7 separate regions of the Homo sapiens genome follow, and regions 1, 2, 4, 5, 6 and 7 are each linked to region 3. The links are contacts of gene promoters, found by promoter capture Hi-C in blood cells and fetal thymus (Javierre and others, 2016). All regions are on one chromosome and are shown on one strand. The core of a region is centred on a gene start or on the middle of the fragment in contact, and the rest is flanking DNA. Distances in the headings are between cores, read along the strand shown.

Evidence for each region. Contacts are between HindIII fragments. The CHiCAGO score rates a contact against its expected background, and 5 or more counts as called.
Region 1: a contact is called between a fragment that was not itself captured here and the fragment with the promoter of RNASE1 in region 3, in 2 of 17 cell types (M0 macrophages and M1 macrophages). The highest score is 6.2, in M0 macrophages.
Region 2: a contact is called between a fragment that was not itself captured here and the fragment with the promoter of RNASE1 in region 3, in 1 of 17 cell types (M2 macrophages). The highest score is 7.5, in M2 macrophages.
Region 4: a fragment that was not itself captured here is called in contact with the fragment with the promoter of RNASE1 in region 3 in 7 of 17 cell types (erythroblasts, M2 macrophages, monocytes and 4 more); the score reaches 8.2 in erythroblasts.
Region 5: a fragment that was not itself captured here is called in contact with the fragment with the promoter of RNASE1 in region 3 in 1 of 17 cell types (M2 macrophages); the score reaches 6.7 in M2 macrophages.
Region 6: a contact is called between a fragment that was not itself captured here and the fragment with the promoter of RNASE1 in region 3, in 1 of 17 cell types (M1 macrophages). The highest score is 5.0, in M1 macrophages.
Region 7: a contact is called between a fragment that was not itself captured here and the fragment with the promoter of RNASE1 in region 3, in 2 of 17 cell types (monocytes and M2 macrophages). The highest score is 5.9, in monocytes.

What each region holds. Positions count from the first base shown.
Region 1 is chr14:21,034,815-21,037,514 of GRCh38, forward strand. It overlaps a transcript of NDRG2 not described here and a transcript of TPPP2 not described here. Among named protein-coding and RNA genes, the nearest start is that of RNASE13, 1.4 kb to the left of the region's middle. The HindIII fragment of the contact is 560 bases long and covers 1,171-1,730 here.
Region 2 is chr14:21,017,870-21,020,569 of GRCh38, forward strand. It overlaps NDRG2 (NDRG family member 2), which reads right to left. Exons shown (of 16, transcript NM_001320329.2): 8 at 2,627-2,700; 9 at 2,051-2,107; 10 at 1,770-1,873; 11 at 1,247-1,291; 12 at 894-945; 13 at 588-635; 14 at 335-370; 15 at 118-169. Among named protein-coding and RNA genes, the nearest start is that of MIR6717, 4.2 kb to the right of the region's middle. RefSeq lists an enhancer at 1,646-2,700. The HindIII fragment of the contact is 4,424 bases long and covers 1-2,700 here.
Region 3 is chr14:20,801,587-20,804,289 of GRCh38, forward strand. RNASE1 (ribonuclease A family member 1, pancreatic) reads right to left here and starts at 1,258. Exons shown (of 2, transcript NM_002933.5): 1 at 1,211-1,258; 2 at 1-507. The coding sequence starts at 482. The coding sequence ends at 12. The region is part of intron 3 of LOC105370397 (a long non-coding RNA gene); the gene reads left to right. The HindIII fragment of the contact is 7,079 bases long and covers 1-2,703 here.
Region 4 is chr14:20,973,067-20,975,766 of GRCh38, forward strand. No RefSeq gene overlaps it. Among named protein-coding and RNA genes, the nearest start is that of METTL17, 16 kb to the right of the region's middle. The HindIII fragment of the contact is 5,961 bases long and covers 1-2,700 here.
Region 5 is chr14:20,619,758-20,622,638 of GRCh38, forward strand. No RefSeq gene overlaps it. Among named protein-coding and RNA genes, the nearest start is that of TRL-TAG2-1, 4.2 kb to the right of the region's middle. The HindIII fragment of the contact is 3,271 bases long and covers 1-2,881 here.
Region 6 is chr14:21,052,506-21,055,205 of GRCh38, forward strand. It overlaps a transcript of NDRG2 not described here. Among named protein-coding and RNA genes, the nearest start is that of RNASE8, 4.0 kb to the right of the region's middle. The HindIII fragment of the contact is 3,933 bases long and covers 1-2,700 here.
Region 7 is chr14:20,994,114-20,996,872 of GRCh38, forward strand. It overlaps METTL17 (methyltransferase like 17), which reads left to right. Exons shown (of 14, transcript NM_022734.3): 8 at 430-500; 9 at 681-788; 10 at 1,052-1,120; 11 at 1,788-1,838; 12 at 2,096-2,179; 13 at 2,414-2,598; 14 at 2,672-2,759. LOC101929718 (a long non-coding RNA gene) reads right to left here. Exons shown (of 4, transcript NR_110139.1): 3 at 2,719-2,759; 4 at 1,724-2,217. Among named protein-coding and RNA genes, the nearest start is that of SLC39A2, 3.8 kb to the right of the region's middle. RefSeq lists an enhancer at 2,016-2,759. The HindIII fragment of the contact is 5,148 bases long and covers 1-2,759 here.

The DNA of each region.
Region 1 (2,700 bases), core at 201-2,700, 230 kb after region 3:
TTGATGAGCCCCTGTGCTAAGAGGGTTGGATGGGTGGGAGGAAAGAGGCATTACTATCTGGTCTCCTCCTCTACAGTGTCATTGGAACACTTACTTCCAATCTCCTTGCCAAAAGTTCCTAAGTGCCTGGGCTTTCTTTGATGTTTTCTCTGTTCCATAGCCTGTGCTCTCGTGGCAAGGTGAGTAGGAAAGCACTGTTATGTTTCTGAGGAACAAAGTGCTTCTTATTCCTGACCCTCAGAGAACAGAGCATTCGCCACTTTGTCATCCCACTCACGGGAGCCCAGGAGGGCATGTACTCAGGGGCCTCCCACCAAAGTGCTGGGCTGAGAATCAAAGACCTCCATGTGGACTCCCCACGGTCCCTATCAGCCTTACTCCTGTCACACCCACAGCCTTCACCTGTGACCTCAGGCCCTGTCAGAGTTTGAGCACTACTGGAAATCTCTGCATGCTGACTCTGAAGCCTCAAACTTGGCAGTTTGGATTTGAAAGCATAACCTGAACATGAAAAGCTGTGGATGCCAGAGCCTGGCATGATCCGTTTCGTACTGTTGGTTGATCTCTGAGTGGTTTGCCATGCTGGGGAAAGGGCCACGCTCCTATCTTTTTCATCAACATCTTCCCTTTCATCAGAATCAAAGAGCCAGCTCCCTGGAAACTGCTAGCTCTTGCCCTTGACTTCCACAGGTCACTCAGCCTTGTTAGTCTGCAAGGTGTCTTCCAGATTTGGGGCCTCCTCTTAGGAGAGCCTTTTTACCTTTGCTGGGCAGCAGAAAAGGGGAGTCAGAACACAGAAAGCTGAGTGCTCCAACACCCTCAGTATAGCTCAGGAGGAGGGAGTAAGGCCGCAGAGAGAAAGATTGGTGTTCCTCATGTAGAGCCCCCTAAACTGGCACTTTCTGACAGCACAAACCACAGTCCAAAATGGAATCCATCCTCCCCATAACTTGTTTCTCTTCCTGTTTTGTCAACTCAGTTTCCCTGGTTACCTATGCAAGAAACCTGAAAGTGATCCTAGACCCCTCCACCTCCCCAATCCCAGCTACGGGGAGGCGGTCCTGCATGGTGGTTAAGATCAAGGCTTTTGAGTGAAACAGACCAGGAATTGAATCCTGCCTCTGCAGCTTACAAACTGCACACCATCTATCTGTTTACGAAACCACTGAAAGCTTCCTTGTTTCATCTGTTCATGAGGATAGTATTTTTTACCTCACGGCAGTATGAGGATCCATTAAGATGTATATCAAGAGTTTTTAGACCAGTGCCCGGCACATGGTGAGTCCTCAGTATGAGCCTGAGTCCATCAGTCACACAGCCCTGACAATCTTAAACTTTTCCCAAGCCCATCTCTTCCATTCTTATTTCTTCCTCAGTGGATGCTCTCGTCTCGCCTGGACAGCACACACACTCCAACTCCAGTAAGACTCAACTCAAATATATCTCTTATACAACTTCAAGAGAAAAAGTGTGATCCCTTCTTTCGTCTAAAAGTCTGCAATAGCTTGTTTCTCATAGGGTAGGGGTGCCCAGTCTTTTGGCTTCCCTGGGCCACATTGGAAGAAGAATTGTCTTGGGCCGCACATAAAATACACTATCACTAACGATAGCTGATGAGCTTAAAACATGCAAAAAAATTCATAATGTTTTAAGAAAGTTTACGAATTTGTGTTGGGCTGCATTCAAAGCCATCCTGGGCCACATGTGACCCGCGGGCCATGGGTTGGACAAGCTTGTCGTAGGGTATAGTCCAAACTACATCTCACAGGACATAAGACTTCCCATGATCTTGCACCTGCCCATGTGTACAACTGCATCTGCATCCCTGCCTGCTTCCCACCTTGTCCCCCACCTCCTCTATGCCCTATCTGCTGCTGTCTCCTCTACCTGGAACCCTGCTGCTGCACCGTTCCTCGCCCCCATCTATTCCATGGTGCTAGCTCATAGAAAGACTCAACCCAGAGGTCCCACTTAGAAAGCCTCTGCTGGGAAGACCTCGCCAAGGAAGTGGGCACCGTCAAGCAAGTGAGGATAGAGCCCACATGGGCAGGTGGCTCATCTGTATTCTTCAGGCTGCTCAACAAGACAACACTGAGCGGGTGCCAATGCAGGGTGTCGCCTGAGCCTGGCTGACTCAGGCCTTTGCTTTGAGGAAGCCAACCACATTGTGGTCCCTGCCTTGAATCATGCCACCTCTTCCCTGGTCCCTCAAGGCTGCAGCTTCCCTGAGAATAGAAAGGGACTTTTTATACCTTTTGTTCTTCCTCTTCCTTCATTCCCCAGCCACCCATCACCGCTCTTCGCTCCCCCCACCCAACACCACTCACTTCTGCCGCACAATTACAGAAACTGAACAGCACATTATAGAGGAAAGCATTCAGGACTTAAATGATTTAATGATGATGAGCCTTCGGCTTCCCAACTGCAATCCTGGTGATCTGTTCCCTAAAATCCTGTCCTAGAGGTGCTGATGCATAAGATTACTTCATCCATTCTGACAACCTCATCATGGTGTCATGTGCTCCGTAAGCCTGAGATTAGTGGGATTGTTACCCCATTACACCGGGTTTTACATACACAAGCATTTCCCTAGGGATGAAAAACTAAGTTCTAGAGTGACAGTGGCTTGCTCAAGGTCATATGTCTAATTCAGTAGTTCCAGGGACAATTGGATAATGTCTGGAGACATTTTTGGTTGTC
Region 2 (2,700 bases), core at 1-2,500, 220 kb after region 3:
GGATCAACGAGCTCGATTGGGCAGATAGCGGTGAGTCCAGGCATTCACCTAAAACGGTTCCACCCCGTCAGTGCCTATCTCTCCTCTAGTGCAGCAAGCTCTTGTCCCGATACTCACTGTAGCCCATGCCTTGCAGGAAGTACTTGAAGGCCTCGGTCAGCTTGCCTGGCTGCGGAAGTAAGAAGAGGCGAGGGAGACGGTGAGATGAGGTTAGAGGAAGAGCTGGAGCCTGAGGCTGCGGCACTGTGGGGCCGGGTGTGTGGCAAAGGGCAGAGCCCAGTGCCACCGGTATCCTATGTCCCTTCCCCATCCCATGGACGGCAGCGGCACTCACCTGAGTCAGCTGGGGCTGACCTCCGGAGTCAGCCATCTGTTCAGGAGAGCACCACCCAGAAAAAGTGAAACACACATAAATGAGCCATGCAGAGAGGTGGAAAGGGTCTCTCTTCCCTAGCTTCTTCACTCTAGCCCCTTTGTTTTGTTCTTCGTTCACCCCATTTGCTCCCATGCCGGGCCCTGGAGGCTTAGCAGCTGCATGTAGAGAGGATATATGACTGTGGACGGGGGCCCAGGAACAGGTTACTGACCTTGAGGAACGAGGTCTGGGTGGGGTCCAGTTTTGAGTTACATTCCACCTGGAGTAAGCAGGAGGCTGAATGAATGAGGTCACGCCCACTGTGGCGCCTCCCCCGTAAGGGACCCAGGAACCCAGACCCCAGTCCCTTTTCTATCAGCTCCCTACCCAGTTCCTCCTTACCAGGAATCAAATTCTTAGTGCCCCAAAGTTGATCTCCCTGTGCCAAACAGGACATCCCCTTGGCAAGATACTCTTCTGACCACCACTTTAGGACCCCAACCCTCCTCCCTCACTCACCCCAAAATTCCCTACTAACCACTGCATCTTCATGAGGTGCTTGGTCTCCTACCACCAGCATCACAGGACACCTAAAGACACAGTGTTGGGGAGAAGGCAGTGAGCCCCTGGCACTCCCTCACTGGCCTCTGCCTAGGAGTGCAGCTGGAAAAATATCTGGCTCCAAAGAGGAAAGACACTTCTGTGTCTCCCTGCTGATGCCACCAAGAGGATTCAAAGGGGGAAGACCTAGAGGGAAGTGATTTACCAAATAGGATGGGGTGGGACATGACAAGGAAGTTCCCTGGCAAAAGATTCTCCTTCTTCTAAGGGACACAAGCTCCTAGGGAAGATCCAGGGAGACAGGCAATGCATTATCTCTTAAAGTCTTACCTGAGGGTGATATCACCTCCACGCTCAAAGTTCAGGTCTCGGCGGCTAGAAAGGGGTTAAAAGAGTAGGAATTTTAGGTGGGCAATGCTATCTAACCAGATATAAGCTATCTCTCCCATGATGGAACTATCTTTGTCTAAAAATTACGGTCAAATCTTGGTTATTAAAGGTGGAAACCAAAGGAGAAAGGGGCAGGCAGGCCCCAAGCACAGCCCCTATAGTCACTTGTGCCCTAGATCCCTGGTCAGAGGGCAACAAAAGGGGAGGAAGGACACAGGACACAAGATCATCTTACTTCTGGGAGTCCAATAATCCAAAGGAGGTAAACAAGAGAAGGGGGACAGCCCCTTGCAATCCTTCCCACTGACTCTGTCCTGAAGCTGCCCCCATTGCACACTAAATGCTGCATTCCTTGCACATTGCACACTACCCAGACTTCCCTCTCCTCCTCTGTGCCTCCCCCATGACGCCCAATTACTGCTTCTGCATTTCTCTCACATGCATACACACACAGCCCACCCACTTGTTGTAGCTGTTCCAGTACAATTCAATGTTATCCAGGTTGGGTGCATGTGTAATGATATTTCTGTACTTTTGTATCAACTCAGAATTTCCAGAGAGCTCTTCCTGAAGGAGAGAACAAGGAGAAAAATTAGGGATGGAAAGAGAAAACAACAATTACTGGAGGAAAAGAGGTAAGCCTTCTTCCTTCCCCAAATCCTGTCCCAGCTAAGGAAGTTAGCCCAAGCATTCAAGTTCCCTGCTGCTCCCGTCGACTCTTCTACATCTCCTACACCCACTTACCTGGCTGAAAAGATGTCCAAGGATCATCTCCGGAATGGAAGAGGTGAGGCCTGTTAGCTATGAGGAGAAGGCAGGTGAGAAAGTTCAGGGTATTGGCCAGGCACAGTGGCTCACGTCTGTAATCCCAGCACTTTGGGAGGCCGAGGCGGGTGGATCACGAGGTCAGGAGTTCAAGACCACCCTGGCCAAGATGGTGAAACCCCATCTCTACTAATAATACAAATATTAGCCAGGCGTGGTGGCGGGTGCCTGTAATCCCAGCTACTTGGGAGGCTGAGGCAGGAGAATCACTTGAACCCAGGAAGCAGAGGTTGCAGTGAGCCAAGATCAAGCCACTGCACTCCAGCCTTGGCAACAGAGTGAGACACCATCTCAAAAAAAAAAAAAAAAAGAAAAAGAAAAAGAAAGTTCAGGATATTATAAGAGACTCAGGCAAAGTGACAGCTTCACTTTCCTGCCCCTTTACTCCCTCCTTGAAGTTCAGAGTCCATCCAGTTAGGCTATCTACCAGAGCCTAACTGGATCCATACGAGGGGATCCCCAACCGTAGGTCTCAGCACACAGGCCCCTCCAAACCTTGTGGGCTGCCCAATCCATCCAACCCTTGGCATTGGGATCAATGTTGATGAGGACAAGACCTTCAACAGTGT
Region 3 (2,703 bases), core at 8-2,507:
CTGCTCTGACCTTAGGTAGAGTCCTCCACAGAAGCATCAAAGTGGACTGGCACATATGGGCTCCCTTCACAGGCCACAATGATGTGTCTCTCCTTCGGGCTGGTCCGGTATGCACAGTTGGGGTACCTGGAGCCGTTTGTCAGGCGGCAGTCTGTGATGTGCATGCTGGAGTTGCTCTTGTAGCAGTTGCCCTGCCCGTTCTTGCAGGTGACCTTTTCCTGGAAACAGACATTCTGGACATCTACCAGGGGCTCGTGCACAAAGGTGTTCACTGGTTTGCACCGCCCCTGTGTCATATTCCGGCGCCTCATCATTTGGTTACAGTAGGTGGAGCTGCTGCTGGGGGAACTGTCTGAGTCCATATGCTGCCGCTGGAATTTCTTGGCCCGGGATTCCTTGCCCAGGGAAGGCTGGACCCAGCCCAGCACCAGCAGTATCAGGACAAGCAGAAGGAGCCGGACAAGAGACTTCTCCAGAGCCATGGTGGCCTCACTTTCCCAGAAAAGCCTAATTGAGAAAAGGAGAGAGAAGGAAAAGAGCCCTCTTAGAAAAAGAACTCCAGCTCCCACCTATGGCTTGCCTGGTTTACACTTTCTGTTTCAGGTCAGCCAGAAAGACGTCCATCCTACTTCCTGAGGTTTTTCGTGTAATGAGACACTCACGTGTACCCTTTTCCACGAGCGTTTTATTCCCACTCTCCAAAGCGAGGTCTTCCTCCCCTCTAGGTGGTGACCTACAAAGTGACCTAAAATCCTGTCAGTTCCTATCTTTGAATACTGGAGTTTCTTTGATCCAAAATACATTTGTACCCAGTGCTCAAATGGCTCATCGAAACATCAGTTTGAATAAATCATGAACCAAATTGTATCCCCGACATCCAGGGCCATGGGTGACAGAGCCTTGTTGTCTTGGAGCATAAGGGAACTCAGGCCAGTGCCTGACACTGGCATCATAAAAGATTCCATTGTATTCCAGAGAGAAACGCTGGCCTCCCCCAATTTGGAGGCTCCTTCTTCTCCAGTCCCATGGATGCTCTGCAGCCTGCACGTTCCACCCTGACCCCTCTGCCCCCAGCTGATGTTTGCCTGGGCCACATTTTTTCAGCGCTAGCATCACCCAATCTTTCTCAGTGCTGTGGACTGGCCCTAGCTCCCTCTTCTGCAACCCTGAAGCAGAAGCGGCACCTGAGAACACCTCTTGGGCTGCTTACCTGGATCTGCAGCTTGGTGTCTGAGAGAGATGGAAGGCCAGTTTCTGCAATCACTCAGCTCCCGGGGTGTGGACCTTATACAGATTACAAAGGGGTTTGGCTTCCAAGAGGAAAAGGGTGGGAGGAGCATCTGGAGCTCAGTTCAAATAAAATCAAGGACGTGAGGAAGGAGTGGTGAATCACCCAGGCCGCCGTCTTTCTAGGGCTGCTGAAGAAAGAGCAAATCTTTGCCTACGTTAGTCTTTCTTCCTATGTGAACCACATCTGTCTGCTGATGCACAAGGAGCAGCAGAGAAAGCCACTACAGCACTGGTGCCCAAACCTGGCACACTAGGAACAAAGTCCTTGTTACTTCTTCGTGGGCGTTTTCACCAAGTAGACTTGGAGGTTAACAAAGGACGCAAAGGAGAGGTTCTAATGGGAGATAGGGAATTCTGGCCAAAGCTATTCCAGGGCTCCTAGGGAGCAAAACCCAAGTCTCTTTCTAGGAGGGCATTCTCCCAACGCTACCTCTCCCGGGGATGGGAGGCGGGGTCGGGGGGAATGGAGGCTGTCCTGCTGCCCCCAGCTGGAAGGCTTCCCAGATCTGGAGAAGAAAGGGGGAGTAACTGAATAGGGAGGAGGAGGAGGCCTCTAGGGTGCGCTCACCCAGTTCTGGCCACTTCCCACCCACCCTCCACCCCTGCTCTGGGGGCATCGAGAGGATGGGGCTGTTCTTATCTACAGTAACCACTGACCCTGTAGGTCGGAATTGAGTAGAGGAACTAAAGATAAACTTAAATCCCAAATCTCAAATTCTTTTTGGGGAAAAAATACAAAGAATATCATATTTATTAGCAGCAGAATGCCCTCCTAGAAAGAGACCTGTTTTTTTGCTGAGTAACAATTTGGATACCTCTAAGAATTATCAAAATATCCCTTCGTGCTGTGTATTCAGATTGTTTCAGCCTTTCTGTGTAAAAAGTGGCCATAGTGAAATTATCTGACCTACCTTGTGTGATTGTAGGTCGTAAGATCCTCATTCCAGAGAGGGTCCTGCCCCCCATACCCAGAAAAAAAGGACGAATGCTCAGAGAGGCCAAGAAGAATCTAGACAGGGAGGCCTTGCTGGGTTTCCCCACTCAGTCTATTTTCATTAGATCGCCCTGTTGTCCAGTCATATTTCTACACAGCTGTTCATACTTTGTTGATATCCAAGTGTAAGAATGCCCACTTTCCCCTGTTATCTTTGGGTCTTCTGAAGGCTCCCGTGTCGTGTAAAACTACGATCAAATCAATTTGTATGCGTTTTTTCCTATCAATCTGTCTTTTGTCAGTTGATTTTCAGCAAACCTTTGGAGGGTGAAAGGGGAATTTTTCCTTGGCCCCTACAGTTTCCTTACTCCCCCAGCCCCCACCTGTATTTTATTTTTCTGAGTCTTTAATAATACTTTTATTCTCTTGAATAGTCAAGTTAGAATGTGTTCATTCATTCATTAGACTGTGGGATACAG
Region 4 (2,700 bases), core at 45-2,544, 170 kb after region 3:
CCTCATAACTCCTACTGATGGAGCTGAGGAGTCCATTGAGAAGATTTTTTTTTTTCCGAGATGGAGTCTCGATTTGTCGCCCAGGTTGGAGTGCAATGGCGCAATCTCAGCTCACTGCAACCTCTGCCTCTCAGGTTCAAGTGATTCTCCTGCCTCAGCCTCCCCAGTATCTGGGATTACAGGTGTGTGCCACCATGCCTGGCTAATTTTTGTACTTTTAGTAGAGACGGGGTTTCACCGTGTTGGCCAGGCTGATCTCCAACTGCTGACCTCAAGTGATCCACCCGCCTCGGCCTCCCAAAGTGCTGGGATTATAGGCATGAACCAACATGCCCAGCCTGAGAAGGTTTTCTAAGTGCTGGGCCTTAGAAGAAGAGAATCTTGTCCAGGAGATGATTAGAAAGAGGGTCCACATATGAGCTGTGTTATTTGTTCTAGAGGAGGGAGTGAAGCGATGGAGAGGAGAGCATCTACATCCTTCAGATGAAAGGAAGCTCCCTTCCCCTGATCCCAGACCCCAGATCCTCAGGATTTCACATTCTCCCCATCTCTCCTCACTCCTCCAAGTACTCACCTGAGGAACTCACTCTGTCACATCCTTCTTCCTCTGACGCACCCAACACCATTGCCTCCCCGCTCTACCCTGAGTCTGCACATTCTCCTGAAGAGCTCCACAGCTTACACACAGACACACCTCATTTTTTTAACTGCCACATAGTACTAAGGGAATCCCAATAGTAAGGAATTATATGTTTAATTCCCAGTTCTAGCACTAATTTTCTATGAGGACTACCATTCTGGTCCTCAGCTATGAAATGTAGCTTGGAATAAAGGACCTCACAAATTCCTTCTAGCTCGGACTCTTGTAGTTCTTTGAAGCCCTCATAAGGAGTGTGTGTGTGTGTGTGTGTGTGTGTGTGTGTGTGTGTGTGTGTGTAGAGGAATGTCTACGGAAAATGCAATCTACATTTCTGAAATTTTTTACTATGTAGATCTGTTTTTCTTAAAATACTATACCTAAATCCAGAAAAAAATCACCTGATTAACTAAAATAAAATTATTGTCCTATATATACATGTATGTATGTATGTTATTATTGCTGTTGTTGCTACCTTAAGACTATCAAGAAAAACATTTAACTATTACATTGCAGTCAACACAGAAATCCCTATTTCTTTTCCCTTCTTCAATAGAGCAAGAGAAAATGTTAGCACAGAAGACAGTAAGATGATCTTACACCTCTGAGATTATTTAGGTTTGAGGTTAGTACACTGGGGGATATCAATCAGCAAACAGTAATGTAGTCATTCCCATCCTTAGCTGTCTCTATCAGCTTCACCTACCTCATCTAATAGGAAAACAGGAGACCTAAAAGTCATTAAACCTAAGAGGAAACTTTGATGAGTGCTTTACTGCCTAAAATATCTCAGCATCATTCAAAATGTTTATCCCTCATGGTTTTGCAAGGAGTGTTGGAAATAAGGAAGCCACTCCCTCTTTGGCACACCTATTTCACATAAGGTAATTGGGATTAAGCCTCACAACATGGTCCAGTAGGTAACACTCTACATACTTTTCTAGAGCTGATACAGGCTTTCGTCTGTGTCCACGATCTAAGGTCACCCACCATCAGGCTTATGTTTGCGTATCATGCAGGGTTTTAATGTTTCCCTTGTAGAAAAGAGAAAACGCCAGGCGTGGTGGCTCACGCCTGTAATCCCAGTACTTTGGGAGAACGAGGCGGGTGGATCACCTGAGGTCAGGAGTTTGAGACCAGCCTGGCCAACCTGGTGAAACCCCGTCTCTACTAAAAATACAAAAATTAGCTGGGTGTGTGGTGGTGGGTGCCTGTAATCCCAGCTACTCGGGAGGCTGAGGCAGGAGAATCATTTGAACCCAGGAGGCAGAGGTTGCAGTGAGCAGAGATCGCCCCATTGCACTCCAGCCTGGGTGACAGAGCGAGACTCCATCTCAAAAAAAAAAGAAAGAAAAGAAAAAAAAAAGAAAAGAGAAAACAAGGGCTGAGTCTGAGATCACAAGGTTGGTGAATAGCAGAGCTGTGAGTCAGACTCTGATATGTTTTTTTTTTTTTTTTTTTTGAAACGAGGTCGTGCTCTGTCACCCAGGCTGGAGTGCAGTAGTGGGATCATAGCTCACTGCAGCCTCAACCTCCCGGGCTCAAACAATTCTTCATTTAACCACAGATTTGATGTACTGATTATTCATTTACATTAAAATAAATATATAACAACGAACACTTTAAATGTGTATCTGCATACCCTAACATCGGCTATCTCACTTACCATCAGCTGTACATGCTTCATTTTTTCACATACAGCTTTATCTTGAACTTTAACTTAAAAAATTCCACCTGGAAAATGCTTTCACAGTAAAAGACCCAAGGACAGTATAAAAAAATGAATCCCAAGGCCAAAGATTTGGTCATATTTATCCAATTCTGTTCAAAAGAGAGGCTGAACAGGCAGGCTCTATATACTCATCATTGTGAAAATGACAAAATTGTTTACTAGGACAGTTCCTCATATTTTTCATGGAGTTAACAAAAAAAGTAATTCTTGTTTTTTCTTTTTGCTCTGATTCCTTGAATAAAGTAGTATATTAAAATGTGATTTTCAGCAGGGCATGGTGGCTCGTGCCTGTAATCCTAGCACCCTGGGAGGCTGAGGCAGGAGGATCACC
Region 5 (2,881 bases), core at 23-2,522, 180 kb before region 3:
AGTAGAGACAGGTTTCACCATGTTGGTCAGGCTGGTCTCGAACTCCTGACCTCATGATTCGCCCTCCTCAGCCTCCCAAAGCGCTGGGATTACAGGCGTGAGCCACTGCATAGAAAACTTCTAAGTACAATCACAGTACTTTGCTTTACTGTGATGGTCAATGTGATAACCATATGAAACCATATCAGAGCTAAGTAAGTCGGGTTCAATAAATGCTGAAAGCATTGACTATCTGATGGAGTCATCAAAAATATTATTTAATTTAAATATAGTATTTAATTTTGAGCAAGATTTTACAGCACATAGAGGGGTCCTCAGGCCAATAGGGGGATGGCTTTTTTTTTTTTTTTTTTTTTTGAGACAGAGTTTCACTCTTATTGTCCAAGCTGGAGTGCAATGGCACGATCTCAGCTCACCACAACCTCCGCCTCCCAGGTTCAAGCAATGCTCCTGCCTCAGCCTCCCAAGTAGCTGAGATTACAGGCGCACAACACCACGCCCGGCTAATTTTTGTATGTTTAGTAGAGACGGGGTTTCACCATGTTGGTTAGGCTGGTCTTGAACTCCTGACCTCGTGATCCGCCCGCCTAGGCCTCCCAAAGTGCTGGGATTACAGGCATGAGCCACCATGCCCAGACTGGGGCATGGCTCTCTATTGGAGCTAGGAACAGAGCTTTACATTGCAATGTAGTGCGTGTCTTCTGCTGCAGACTGATCCAGAAAGATTCTGGTGGGAATTTTCAGATGCTCTAAATGAACATAGAACATCTGATACAGAAGTTGGTACATAGAGTATTTCTCAAAATTTAATGCATACTCTAACTTTTGGGGAGTTTGTTAAGATTCTGATTCAGTAGGCCTGAGATTCTGCATTTCTAATCTGCTACCAAAAGATGCTGATGCTGCTGGTCCCCAATCACACTTTGCATATTAAGGCCTTAAAGTAAATCTCTTGCTTATCTATAAATTTTCATCATCTGAACTATTAACAAGGTATGGATAGCAAGAAATTCAAGGTTAAACTCTCCGACAATATTACAGAATGCTAGAGCCTAGAATATCAGCATTCTGTGCTGAAGACTGAAGGAATAGACATGTGCCAGCCAGACGAACACATTGCATGTATTTGTATCAGGCATCTTTCCAAAAGGGTGGTTATCTATTTGCTTTAGATATTGGGCAATCAAGTATGCAGCAAATTTGGCATTCTACTAGGAAAGCCAAGACACCTGGCTTATGGGTCTCAGGGCACTTACTGTTTGAGCTGTGCAATCCAACATGTGATCCACTTCTTGAAAGGAACAGGCCAAGTTTCCTCCCTCCCTACTGAAGGATCCTGTGAGCACAAGGTGGGAAATAGGTACTCCAGCAACACTGAATAGGAAATTGAATAGGAGAAGCTATGCCCACTTGTTAGCAAAGGAACTTCAGCCAGGAACAGGAGAGTGTGGTACTTTCTTGATAAGAAAGTGCTCTGACGCCTGTCAGTTTGAGGAATTTGAACCTGCAGCATTCCAGGATCAAAGAGGGCTCTGCTGTGATGATAGGTTCTTTCCTGTTGACTGCTTCCTTTTATTGCCTGATCTGGCACTAAAACAGATCAAAATGAGCTCAGGCCACTTCCATCACTTGAGAATCTTCATATTTAAAAAAAAAAAGTCAACACATAGAGAAACTATGGGTTATTTAAATGAGTATTATGATTTTTTTTGTTTATTTGTTTTTGTTTTTGTTTTTAAATGGAATCTCTGTTGCCCAGGCTGGAGTGCAGTGGTGCGATCTCGGCTCACTGCAACCTCCATCTCCTGGGTTCAAGCGATTCTCCTGCCTCAGCCTCCTGAGTAGCTGGGATTACAGGCACATGCCACCATGCCCGGCTAATTTTTGTATTTTTAGTAGAGACGGGGTTTTGACATGTTGTCCAGGCTGGTCTCGAATTCCTGACCTCAAGCAATGTGCCTGCTTCAGTCTCCCAAAATGCCGAGATTACAGGCGTGAGCCACCACACCTGGCCAAATGAGTATTGTCTTCGTTCGTTTTGTGTTGCTGTAATAGAATACATGAGGCTGAGTAATTTAGAAAGAAAGAGGTTTATTTAGCTCACAGTTCTGCAGCCTGGGAAGTAGGAGAAGCATGTTACCAGCATCAGCCAGGCTTCTGGGGAGGGCCACTACACTAGGTCAAAACAAGGCAGAGAAGGTCAAAGGGGAAGCAGACACATACAAAGAGAAAAAAAGAAAAAAAAAAGTGAGGGCCTCTTGGCTGTATAACAACCCACTCTCCCAGGGAACTAATCCATTCCCAAAGGAAGTAATCCAATCTCACCAGAGCCAGAACTCACACACTACAGAGAGAAGGGCACCAAGACATTCATAAGGAATTTACTACTGTGATCCAAACACCTCCCACTAGGCCCCATCTCCCAACACTGACACATTGGAAATCAAATTTCGACATGAGTTCTAGTGGGGACAAATTAACCATATTCAAACCATAGCAGGTATGTTTATCAGACTAGCACTGAAACACAGAGACATAAATGTGACTGTAAAATCTCATCTGGAGAGCTCATCAAAAGTTTCAATATGAGACCCATTCATGTGCCCTAAGTCTCTTATTGGCTCAATTCTAGGTATAATAGCTCAACAGATATTTTAAATATTTGTTATCTCCCCTCCCATTCACCCTGCACAGCTCTTTCAAGTCGTAAAGAGCCCCAGGATCTTTCTTTTTTTCTTTCAAGCTGATGCTTCCCCGGCCTGCACACTGAGATGGTGGCACAGGATTCCTAGGATTCTCTCCAGCTTAAGAAGAACATTAGTCTTTCCACTTCTGACCCTGGCAAAGACTTGCGTGTACTGATGGAGGCAGTAAGCTCACA
Region 6 (2,700 bases), core at 19-2,518, 250 kb after region 3:
GGGAAACAGAAGCAAAGCTGAAGAGAGCAAAACATGTGCTGGAGACAAAAGGAAAATCAGGTTATTAGGATAGAATTTGGTTAGAATAGTTTGTGTTCGGAGGGAAGATAGGGAGGCCACTCATACGGAATGGGTAGACTGGACGCAAGGTGAGTAGGAGAAGGCTTTGATTCCAGGCTGGGAAGGCTGGATGTTACCTTGCAAGCAAGAGAACCACTGGAGATAAACAGATGATCTTTAGAGAAATGATGCAGGAAAAGGAATATTTTAACAAGATCCATCCAACATTATTATACATGCTCAATTAAACTCAGGAGAAAGGGTAGGCAAGGAGGCAGTTAGAAGGTGGTGAGAGTCATCCAGACAGGCAGTGGAAAGGGAGAGAAATACGTACAAGAGAACCAATAAGACTAAGTGACTCAAGTGCCCCTCCATACTTTGATCATGCTAAGTATTCAGTCTGTTAGCCTACTAATCGATATGGGGATGAAAGATTAGAAACAGTCAAAGGAGACCAGTATTTTCAACTGGAAGCGCCAAAAACAGAAACAGGGGCCTTACAAGGGGATAATCAGGTTTTGAGAAAAGTTGAATTCTCAGACAACAGAACTGGGTGCCTGATATAACTGGTAGGTAGTGAAGATTCATGTCACTGAAGGTATTCAAGCCCAAAAACCATCTGTTGGTAACGTTATTGCCAGGTGCATTGGCTCACACCTGTAATATCAGTACTTTGGGAGGCTGAGGCGAGTGGATCACTTGAGTCCAGGAGTTTGAGACCAGTGCTGGCAACGTGGCAAAACCCATCTCTACAAAAAATAGAAAAATTAGCCGCACTTTGGCCGGGCGCAGTGGCTGACACCTGTCATCCCAGCACTTGGGGAGGCCGAGGCAGGTGGCTCATGAGGTCAGGAGTTCGAGACCAGCCTGGCCAAGATGGTGAAACCCCAGCTCTACTAAAAAATACAAAAATTAGCCAGGCGCGGCAGTGGGTGTCTGTAATCCCAGCTACTCAAGAGGCTGAGGCAGGAGAATCGCTTGAACCCAGGAGGCAGAGTTTGCAGTGAGCCGAGATCTCGCCACTGCAGTCTAGCCTGGGCGGCAGAGCAAGACTCCGTCTCAGAAAAAAAAAGAAAAGAAAAAGAAAAATTAGCCACACGTGGTGGTGCAGGCCTGTAGTCCCAGCTACTCAGGAGGCTGACGTAGGAGGACCACCTGATCCCAGGATGTAGAAACTACAGGGAGCCATGATCGTGCCACTGCACTCCAGCCTGGGTGACAGAGCAAGACCCTGCCTTAAAAAAGAAAAAAAAAATACACTTCTGATCAGAGCAAGAGCTAAGATTCAATGAACTCGGAAGTGCCTTCCTGCTTTGATATTCTATGAAACTGGGTCCATGTAAGCTAGTGAAGAGCCTTGCCCAAGGTCATGCAGCTAATTAGTGAAAGAGGTGGGACCAGAATTCAGGGCTATTCATGTCTGGTTCAGTATTCTTACCACTAGACTATTTTAACTTTGATTGTAGTCTGAGTTGTACTCTCAGGGGTGACCAGAAACCCCATATAAAAACAAGATCAGTAAAAATTGGCTCTGAAATGAAACAAAGCTGCAGCACGGCCTGACACAGTGTACAGAGTGTAAATTTGAGGATCAGATCGAAGTGGCTCTGTCACTCACTCCTGTATGGCTGTGGGCAAGTTACTCAACTCCCACACACACAGACATTGTTTCCTTACCTACAAAATAAGCATAAATATTTCTATCTCATGGGGATGCTGCAAGATAAGTAAGGAGATGTTTTTAGATAGATTGATCACAAAAGAGATAATACACACACACACACACACACACACACACTGCTGAGTTCAGTGTCAAGAACATAGTAGACATTAGAGATGGCATTCAGTCTTCTTCTCTTGTGATCTGGTGGGAACAGGCATTGACCAATCAGAGCCAAGACTGGCTCATCTCCATACCAGTGCACACAAGGTGACTCTTAGCCCACAAGAGGAGGAAATGTTTAGGCCAGCCCTGGGCTCCTGCTGCCATCCCCACTCTGTCACTTCAAAGGCTGGCAGCTTGGGTCTGTAACTGTTAATGAATTATCAATAAACAGGAAAGCAGTGTGGCAAGGAAAGATAACATGAACTTTGGAGCCAAACAGAACCGAATTTCAAATCCCGGCCCTGCCACTTACTAAATCTGTGGATCTTAACCTGCCAGAACCTTAGTTTCCTTTTCTGTAAAATTGGGATAATATTGTGGAACACACAATACAGTTTATATATAAAGTTGTACACAAAGCACAATGCTTTGGCTCGTGAAGCACCTTTTAAAATGAGGTTCTTTACTTTCCACCAAGAACCTAGAACTGTACCGAGCACATTTTAGATGCTAATTAAATGATGCTTGGTAGCATCTCTTTCCTCCTGCTGCTGCTGTACAGCCCTGTGCTGACCTGAACCATAAGCAATGCGGTGTATGTTATCCTGGCTGCCTTTAGTAGGTAGTAAATAGTATACTCTATCCTACCATACTCCTAAGCATTTTACCACTCGCCACACTACTTTGAATATGTAAGATATATATTCCTCATTCAATATTGTTTCTGCAGAAATGTATCTGAAAAGATTTTTAAAGTTTTACTTTTGAAATTATTTGACTGCAAGTAAGTTGTGACTGGCACTGTTCCTTCTGCA
Region 7 (2,759 bases), core at 140-2,639, 190 kb after region 3:
TACTAGTAAAAGTGTTTTACTGGGAAGTAGAGAAGAGGGTAAAAATTAAGATGAATCTGGTTTACTTTTAAAGTTATAGTCAAGCAAAGGGTGGTATTAGAGGTTTCTGCTGGACTGAGGATGGGTTGGGTAAGAATCAAAGGACAGGAGGCCTAATATTCTCCCTGCCCTTTTTTTTTTTTTTTTAATTAGAGGTAGGGTCTCCATATGTTACCCAGGCTGGTCTCAAACTCCTGGCCTCAAGCCATCCTCCCACTTCAGCCTCTAGGGTAGCTGGGATTACAGGCACGCACCGCCATACCTGGCTCATCCCTGCCCTTTTTGATATACACTTTACCTATTCTTGGGGCCATGTTTCTTATCTGGATATCTCTTCAGTTTATACCTAACTTCCTACACACTCACAGTTGCCTCTTCTTTTCTCCACAGGTGGTTCAGAATCTGGGGAGCCTTATATTCCAGGTGTCTTTTTCAGACAGTTTCTACCTGTATCACCCAAGGCAAGTGGCAGTGTTTAGAATATTCTAAATGTGGAATGTGGCAGATGGAAAACTATGGCTTGAGCTTTGCAGCCCAGCACTGAGTGTTAGAAGATAAAAGAAATTTAGCGGCTAGGACTTTGTTGTATTCTTGGGATGTAGAGATGTTGAGTCTGTCATGTTCCTTGTCTTGGTCCTCAGGTGCAGTTTGATGTAGTAGTGTCAGCTTTTTCCTTAAGTGAACTGCCCAGCAAGGCTGACCGCACTGAGGTAGTTCAAACCTTATGGCGTAAGACAGGTCATTTCCTGGTGAGTTAAAATTCCTTGTTCTCCTTAAGTCTTGAAGCAGCTTCATGGATTTCATGCCTTTGCTCCTCTCATTGTCTTTATTCTTCACCATTTTTCTCCTTCATGGGTTTCTTTATCCCTCTTTGAGGGTCTCCATCCTGATTATGTAATGCCTATTTCTTTTTAGGACTCCTTCTCCCTCTATGATTGCTCTTACACAGCTACTGACATTTATACTTTCGTGTAATTCAAGTCTTCTGCATATTTTCCCCTTTTGTGAACAGGTACTGGTGGAGAATGGAACAAAAGCTGGGCACAGCCTTCTCATGGATGCCAGGGATCTGGTCCTTAAGGTAAGGCTTCTTCTTCCCTCACTCCCCCACCCATATGGCACCAATTACTGTTACTCTCTTGAAAACGAAAGAGACTGTCATGTATTGACAAGGGTGGCTCTCAGGAAACTGGGCGTATGAAGTCATTATGATACAGAGCAGTGGTTGGCAAATGAGAGCCTGTGGATCAAATCCGACCTGCCACCTGTTTTTATATAAGCCATGCTTATTTGTGCCTCTGTTGTCTGTGACTGCTTTCACACTACAAACAGCAGAGTTGAGTAGTTGGGACAGAGATAGATTTTGCCTACTCTCTGGCCCTTTAAAAGAAACTTTGCGGACTCCTAATCTAGGGCATTGCTGAGCTAAGAACCTTGTCACTGGGGGAGAGTATGAGCCAGTGTATAATCATAAATTTAATTGTCCTGGAGTGGGATTTTTTTGAGAGTGGAGGTTGCTGACAAGGGAGAGCACCGTACTATGTGCCAAGTTCTTGCCTTTCTCCTGCAGCAAAGAGAAAGTTCTTTGTTTGGAGTATTAAAGATGCAGCCAGCTTAATTCAAAGGACATAGTCAATCGTTATTAGAATTGAGTGTTAAAGGAGTCCTCAGTTTACTGAGTGCAGAGATTGAATTATGAAAATAGACCCTTGGCCCAGCTTTATTTCTTTTATTTCCTTTGATTTCAGGGAAAAGAGAAGTCACCTTTGGACCCTCGACCTGGTTTTGTCTTTGCCCCGGTGAGTATTACTTCTGCCTGTCCCACCACACGGATCTGAACTTAGGCGTGGCCGGGAAATGTAAGATGGTAAAGCTAAGCCACTCTCCACTACTTTGTGTTCCTATCCAGTTCCTACCTAATGATTCCCCTGGCTCTTCCTACCCACTGCTCCTGTCCTCCCTTCTCCCTGGCCCCTTTTGACTCTATTATTCTCAGTTTTTAAGTTTTGTGATTGATGGCTCTTTTGTCTTACCTCATTTTTTTATGTGTTCACAGTGTCCCCATGAACTCCCTTGTCCCCAGTTGACCAACCTGGCCTGTAGCTTCTCACAGGCGTACCATCCCATCCCCTTCAGCTGGGTAGGTACCTGGGGATATTGCAGCAGGAAGCAAACATCCTGGAAAAACAGGAAGAAAAAGAATCAGAGTTAGGAGGAGTTGGATAATTTGTAGAATAGCCTGGAGACTTTAGGGCCTACATGTATATGATTTATACATTGTAAAAAAGGACTGCAGGAATGGGGAAGAAGGGACTGTACAAACTTTTTTCCCATATCTTTTTCTTCTAAACAGTCTCTATGTTCCTTATCTTAGAACAAGAAACCAAAGGAAGAAAAGTTCTCTATGGTGATCCTTGCTCGGGGGTCTCCAGAGGAGGCTCATCGCTGGCCCCGTATCACTCAGCCTGTCCTTAAACGGCCTCGCCATGTGCATTGTCACTTGTGCTGTCCAGATGGGCACATGCAGCATGCTGTGCTCACAGCCCGCCGGCACGGCAGGTATGGGGGGTGTGACCAAAATCAGTGGGATGTGGCAGGAAGCTGCAGCCCACGCCAGCATCTGTTTCCACAGGGATTTGTATCGTTGTGCCCGTGTCAGCTCCTGGGGAGATCTTTTACCTGTGCTTACTCCGTCTGCGTTTCCTCCATCTACGGCTCAG